Linked DNA regions of Homo sapiens: region 1 is linked to region 2. The links are contacts of gene promoters, found by promoter capture Hi-C in blood cells and fetal thymus (Javierre and others, 2016). All regions are on one chromosome and are shown on one strand. Each heading gives the region's core, a stretch centred on a gene start or on the middle of the fragment in contact. The rest is flanking DNA. Distances are from core to core; before and after follow the strand shown. Region 1 has its middle 82 kb from the start of LINC02535. Region 2 holds the start of TBX18-AS1 (TBX18 antisense RNA 1).

Evidence for each region. Contacts are between HindIII fragments. The CHiCAGO score rates a contact against its expected background, and 5 or more counts as called.
Region 1: a fragment that was not itself captured here is called in contact with the fragment with the promoter of TBX18-AS1 in region 2 in 2 of 17 cell types (erythroblasts and megakaryocytes); the score reaches 5.5 in erythroblasts.

What each region holds. Positions count from the first base shown.
Region 1 is chr6:85,321,553-85,324,875 of GRCh38, forward strand. No RefSeq gene overlaps it. Among named protein-coding and RNA genes, the nearest start is that of LINC02535, 82 kb to the right of the region's middle. The HindIII fragment of the contact is 152 bases long and covers 1,938-2,089 here.
Region 2 is chr6:84,688,071-84,691,590 of GRCh38, forward strand. It overlaps TBX18-AS1 (TBX18 antisense RNA 1), which reads left to right and starts at 1,388. Exons shown (of 3, transcript NR_125877.1): 1 at 1,388-1,491. The HindIII fragment of the contact is 6,253 bases long and covers 886-3,520 here.

The DNA.
Region 1 (3,323 bases), core at 764-3,263, 630 kb after region 2:
ACGTTTCTACGTTTATTTAAAGTAGAATGTTAAGGCCAAGATGAAGAGAATCAATTCTAATCAGCTTTTGAAGTAGAAACAGGACAGGATCAATCTTGCAGCACTCAACAGACTATCTCCCATTTGGAACTAAAGATGCAGAACATAAAACATTCCATTAGATCCCTATTTTATTTCATTTGTGGCCACATGAGTCTGTCTAATCCTGACCACAGAATCAGAATGTTGAAAAGACTTTGAAGGTTCATCGAATCCACACCCACGCCTATGGGAAGATCTCCCACTAACCCTCCAGACACATGGGGACTTACCCTGTTTCTAAAGACCTCCACGAAGTCCTACAAAAAGTGTTAAAACACCAGCTCTCCTGCCAGTGGTCTGCTGGGATTGTTGAATTTGCGTCGGCCCCACCTCCATTAATCAATCCCACTCCAGCTCCTCAGAATCATCCCCTTTTCTCTACTCTTTAATACTCAACATCTGCCCACAGCTCACATGTGTTGCATTGCCAAGTTCTGGCCCCTAAGCCAGCTGAGGCCTGTTCTAGTCTATTGAAGCCAAGGCACAGGTGTGGCTGTCAGGCAGCCCAAGCCCCTCCTGTTGTTCCCCATGCAACCATTGGCAGTGCTTCAGCTGCTGAGCAGCTAGTGAGAGGAAAGGCAAATTCCTAAACACTCAGGAGTTTTGGAGTGTTTCATTCTTTGCAAGGAAAAAAGATTCATAGATCTTTTATTAGGGAGGCTGCAAGTGATGCTTGATATAAAATATTTGCCTTTTGTTTAACATAGTAAATTGATCATTATTTGGCTACCCCAACTCAAACTTCTGATCAAGCCTCAAAATTTGCAGCACCAACCTCTACCAGAATTCCTACTCTGTTGGCTTAAAATAGCAGAGGAGTAAACTTTTTTCCTTCATTAATATGAAAGAATTTGAAGCATTAGAAATAGCCCTGCACTAAAGAAACAGGTACTAAGAATGATGTTTCCCAGGAAATGCGTGTGGCCAGAAACCTAAGTCAGGAATGAAGAATCCTCAATGAGCATTGGAGAGGACTGTCTACTTTCCTTGACTCTCATATCATTCCTGGCTCCAGACTGGCTCCTGGAAAACGCTTTTTCTCCATTTCCCAGACAATGTCTTGTGCACTCCCCCATTGCCTGAGAGAGACTTAGGGAGGGTTATCTGTAGTACCAATCAAGGCAGCTTGGATGCTCCCCTCCAGCCTTCAGCAGACAGACCCTCCTGGAGATGTGGGAAGGGCCATCACCCCACTGTAAGGAGCTGAGGCCCTGTTGATCAGCTTTTTCAGTTTCAGCAACAGAAGCAGACAGGCCTTGAGCTGTATGGAGTGGAGCCTGCAGTTACTGGTGTGACCATCCACTGCAGTCAGAGGCAAAACCCTGAGAGAAGCCCAAAATCCAGCTGAAGAATGGGAATGCACAGGGTCATACTCCTCAGGTGGTGCCAATTTTCAAAACCCCAGACCCCTCAAATCAAGGACTGTATCCCAGAGAACTGGATAAACCAGCTATGTCCCTACAGATAAAGACACATGCTACCCTTTAACTTCCTGCTGGCTAAATGCTTTCTCTGAAGGCCTCGCCTGAGCTAAAATCAGATTTTCACATTTAGTATAATAATTCTCAAAAGCCCCACCCCCCGATCATAATCATCTTTTGACCTCCCTTCTCAGTGTTTCTACATTCACTGAGAAGTCTTAGCCAAGCTCCTACGACTCCTAATAGCTCAGATGACCCTAAACAGATGCATGCATTTGGATCATGTTAAGTTCATGTTCCAGCACTCCTGTCAGCCTTTCTTTCAGAAAGGTGATTTTTTCTCAGACTCAGGACAATTTTATATGGTAAACAGATTGCTTAAACAAACAAGCTTTGTTAACTTTTAAAGAAAGCACATAAATTATACCATCATAAAGCTTTCCCTTTTCAGGTTTGTAACTGGAGTGTCATAAACATCAGACTTGATGATCTTTGGTCCACATTTCAGATGTCTCTATCTTCAGGTGAGCCCCAAATGATTCTTACAAAGGGTAGCAGCGCCCTCTACTGGTTGGCTTTGCAGGCTAAGCTTTTACAAGGTGGAAGTCTGAGTATGAATCCCTTTGATGCTGAAATCCCTTGTAGTTAAGAAGGGAAATGAGGTTTTGAATGCGACGTTCTTCATTTCCTCAGCAACGCACATTGCAGCAAGGAGAGTCTCACATTTCTTCCATTATTATTTCTAGCATTTAATATAGCCAGCCACATTAGAACTGATGACACCTCGACAGCATTTTTCCCCATTACTAACGGTGTGAGGCAAATCGATGAGGGGTGGGGGGTTCCATTCTTCCCACCCTTTTTAGTACTCCGCCCCGCCCAAATAATAGAGCAGCACCACTGGCCATCTCTGAGATGTTCCCTTAAGAGCCACAGGAGGACAAACACAACCCACATGAGATGATAAGCCTGATTCTGTGCCACCTGGACTGGAAATCGACTAAGAGCTTGAGTGTACAATAAGACTCTCACAACCATCCACACACAGCATAGAATTTCAATCTTGATCTGAAAGCAGCTGTCAAGCTCAACCACCTCAACCACTTACTTCCAAAGGAATCTCTATGAATTCAGGAAACCAGGAGACCCTTTAGGTGGCTGGGGTACATTCAACAAAAAATATTTCACTATATTCAACAAATATTTAGTAAGCACTTACACTGTTCTGGTGCTGTGTAGGCACCAAGGAAACAGTGTTAAGAAAAAGCAACACCTGCTCTTAGTGGAACTTGTTGTCTAAGTGAGAAGACAAATAATCCCCAAAATTAATTACAAACAAGGACAAAAGACATGAAGGAAAGGTACACGATGTCATGTGGATATATAGTCTAGGGGAGTGGAGGGAGTTTCCCTGAGGAACTAACATTATCACTGAGAGCAAAAGGGCAAATAGTAGTTACTGAGGGTGGGAGTGGGCATGGGTTCCAGGCAGAGAGATAAGCATGTGAAAGACAGCTGCCAGGCAGGGAGGGGCAAGATCCTGGATGTGACCCTTGCCATAGGCATCCATGTCTTTATGACATTATTTCTATAAAATTGACTAAATAAATAAATACAAATAAATCCTTCCCAGCAATTGACCAAATTCCTCCAGTAAACCGAGTTGTCAATTTCTGTGCTGGGAAATGAGAGGAGTGGCCAAGTCTTCTACAAAGTGGGCATTTTTCTGGTTTTCGTCCACCTGCTGGAAGTTATGGATTCCAGTGAGCTCTTTGCTTCATCTTTGCATCATTTTAGCATGTTGCACCATGTACCCAATGC
Region 2 (3,520 bases), core at 138-2,637:
AACATAAAGGTAAAGAAGTTTGGTGACCAGAGCAAATAAGCTCTTTACAAAAGGGCCAAGCACCACACTATCTTGAAACTGAAAACACCCAAATCTTTTCTTAACTTTTCCTGAAGTTAACCGTCTTTTGAGCCTAACTTTCTGGGGAGTGATTGAGGACTGAAGGAATCGGGATTGGCAAGAAAAATGTCTCTCCCTCCGAAGCATCTGGCTGCATACTCTGAAAAGACAGGGCATTTGAAGAAAGAGCATAATCAACCTGTCAGAAACATTTTGATTTCACTTAAATACTGGGCAATCTGACAACAACTTTTCCCACAACTGAGAAGAATCTCCTAACATGAGAGGCACTTGAAGACGTGTTAAAATTTTTACAGCTATTAACACATTCCTAAGAAAAATACTGCTGGAGACACAAGAAAGCCAAGGATAACAATCTTCTCTTTCCAATGAAAACGTTTAGTCTGTTTGATTAAAGGAAGATAAATGAAAGGGCAAGGGCAAACTCACCTCACATTCTGTGCTACAGTTTGGTTTCCCTTGAGACCAAATTGTCTCGCTCAGGAAAAATGTAGTCTGTCTTCAAGTCCCTGTATTCTGGAGCAAGGAATCAGATGAGGAATCACTTAGCATTCAGCACATCTCAGCTGGCTCTGAAGGGCCTGAATTCTCTGGCAACCTTGACCAGGGATAAGCAGAACGGAGAAGGCAGGGCATAGCCATCAATTTATGTTTCCTTCTTCTCCTTATCTCCCTATTCCAAGAGATTCAAAGAGAGGTGCAGATAGCCCTCCAATAAGAACAAAACCCTCTGGACCAGGGTACCTAGGCTCTGGTCCTAGCTCTGCAATAACTGTGACCTTGAAAAACTATTTGTTGTCGCTAAGCTTCAGTTTTTCTTTCCATTAAATTAGGGGGTTGGTCTAAAACAGTATTTTCACACTGTGATTTGGAGCCATTTGTGGGACATAAAGTCAATTTAGTCAGTTGCAACAGGCAATGCTTGGAAAGGAAAGAGGATAAGATAAGGGATAAAGTAGGGAATGGGATGGGATGGGATGGGATGGGATGGGATGGGATGGAACATAGGATAAGATAGCTTAGGACAGGACAGGATAGAAAATATCACACTGCTTCATTTTTTTTTTATTGGTGTTCACAGAAGCCAGCATTCATTGATGTTTTTACAACTTCCCCAGGTCTACCAGGCTTCTTGATCTCACTTCTTCTAGAAGAAAACCCAGCCAAGGTGGTACAAGCTGTAGACAGTGCCACCCAGACACAGCTCCACAGTCCATTGTATAGGATGCTGTCAGTTGTCCTGCCCTTTAAGTGCATTGTGAGGTCACTGTCCACCTCAATTCATCAGGAGAGACCTAGTGTGGGTGTAGGGGTGCCTGAGGAGAAAGGGGTGCTGGTTCTTCCTTATATCCCCTGCCTGCCTCAGCTGGGCTCTGACCCAGCCAGCAGACTGGAGTCCTCTTCTGCATGGTATATTCTTTCCTGAGACTTTTGTTTCAGTTAGGTGTGTGTGTGTTTCTGTTTTTGTGTGTGCATGTGTGTGTCTTAAAATATAGTTCTATGTATTGTGTCTAGAAGAATGTTTGATAAACACTGGATTGAATGATCTCTCAGATTTCCTCTAGCTCTACTCATGTGGAATTTGGTAAGCTATACAGACACCATTCTGATAAGCCTACACTCTGGGTGGGTCCATTCCAGACCTCATACACTACACTAATGAATATGAATCTATTTTTATGTGACTTGAGGCCATTGAAATTTTGTGTACATTTATGTTCATGTATTAATGTGCAAGTGTATTCGTGTTTTTATCTCACCTGATACAGGACCTAACCACTGCCAGCACTGAAGTACAATGTGACTCACTATAGCAAAACAAAAAAGCAGTAGAGATCAATGGCCTTCAACACTGAAGAAATTAGTTTCTAGAGAAGCCTGGGGCTATGTTTCAGTGCCTAGGGCTATGTTTGCTTGATGTAGAGAAGGAATAAGAGAAGGGACATACATGTATTGCTATACTCTGGTACCCATAAAGAATGATCCTTTGGGAATATGCCACTGTTAAAGTAGTTGTTTATAGAACTGAGCTACATGGTCTTGTGACTTGAAAACACTTGAAACAAGAGTATAACTGCTACACAATCATTTCAAAATTCCTGTTTTACTCACTGTTTTATTCTTTGGGAGTAGCACTGTGCCCAGGACACAGTAGACATCATAAAATGTCTGTTGGAGTCTTATATAACTTTGCTAGCCACGGGGGAATCTTCTATTTCAGTAGGTTGGCCCTTGGTTCCTTCTAATTACTTAAAGTCAGGAAGGACTGTGATATCCACCCCATTAGCCAGAATCTAGTCACACAACACCAACCTAACATAAGGAGGTTCATATCAATGAAATAAACATGGATATTTAGTGAGTACTAATATTCTCCATTAATATGATCACTCCCTCCCTCCTTGAAACACTTTATTAACTTAGCTTTCAGAATACAGCACTCTCTTAGTTTTCCTTTGATCTCGTTGGTATGTCCTTCTAGGTATCCTTTCCGATTCCTTTCCTTTCACTTCTGATCCTTTGCTCAATATGAAGTTCAGTGACTTCATGTAGGTAGCTTGAAATCATTCATGGTGGGACTATTTACACCATGGAAATTGGCAAATGCCACAAATTAGGGCTTTGTCTTCAGAGAGCCAATTGTTCCACATTTACCAGCTCACTACTGGCTCTATTTCTATTTTTTAATGGTTCTGTTTGAAATTGTATTATGCATGTTTAACTTAACAAAGTCTAAAATTTAAAAATGTCTTGAACCCCTTGTGAATGATACAGACCTTAAAATAACTTTTCCTCCACTGAAATTATAAAGTACTTGTCCAATATTTTATTTCTATGTATTTTGTAACACCATAAAATATATGGTGTTATTTTACTTTACACAATGTTTACATTTCTGTTTATCATTTACATTCTCACTGTTTTTGTATCTAGACCATCCTTCTGAGATCAGTCTCCTTTTTCTTGAAATGTAGCCTTCATGACTTCCTGTAGAGTGGATGCTTTGGTAGTAAATTCCCTTCAATTTCTGTAAATTATCTTGTATCTGTAAAAGACTGTATTTTGCCCTCATTCTTCAAAGATGTTTTTGTGTTTTGTTTTTAGTGGGAGGAAGAGAACAGGAGTACAGGTTGACAGTTATCTATCAGCATTTTAAAAACATTATTCCACAGTCTTCTGGCTTCCATTTTTCTCTGTGGAGAACACTGCTGTCATTATAATTGTTGTTCCTGTGTAGGTGATCAACCCTTTCTCTCTGGCTACTTTCTGTATTTTCTCCTTGTCTTAATATTCTGAAAATGTATTGTGATGCTTTTAAGATGGACTTCTTTTTCTTTATCTTGCTGGAGCTATGTTGTTCTCTTTGAAAATGTGTTGTCATAATTTTATTTTATTTTATTTTATTTATTTATTTATTTTTTAATTATACTTTAAGTTT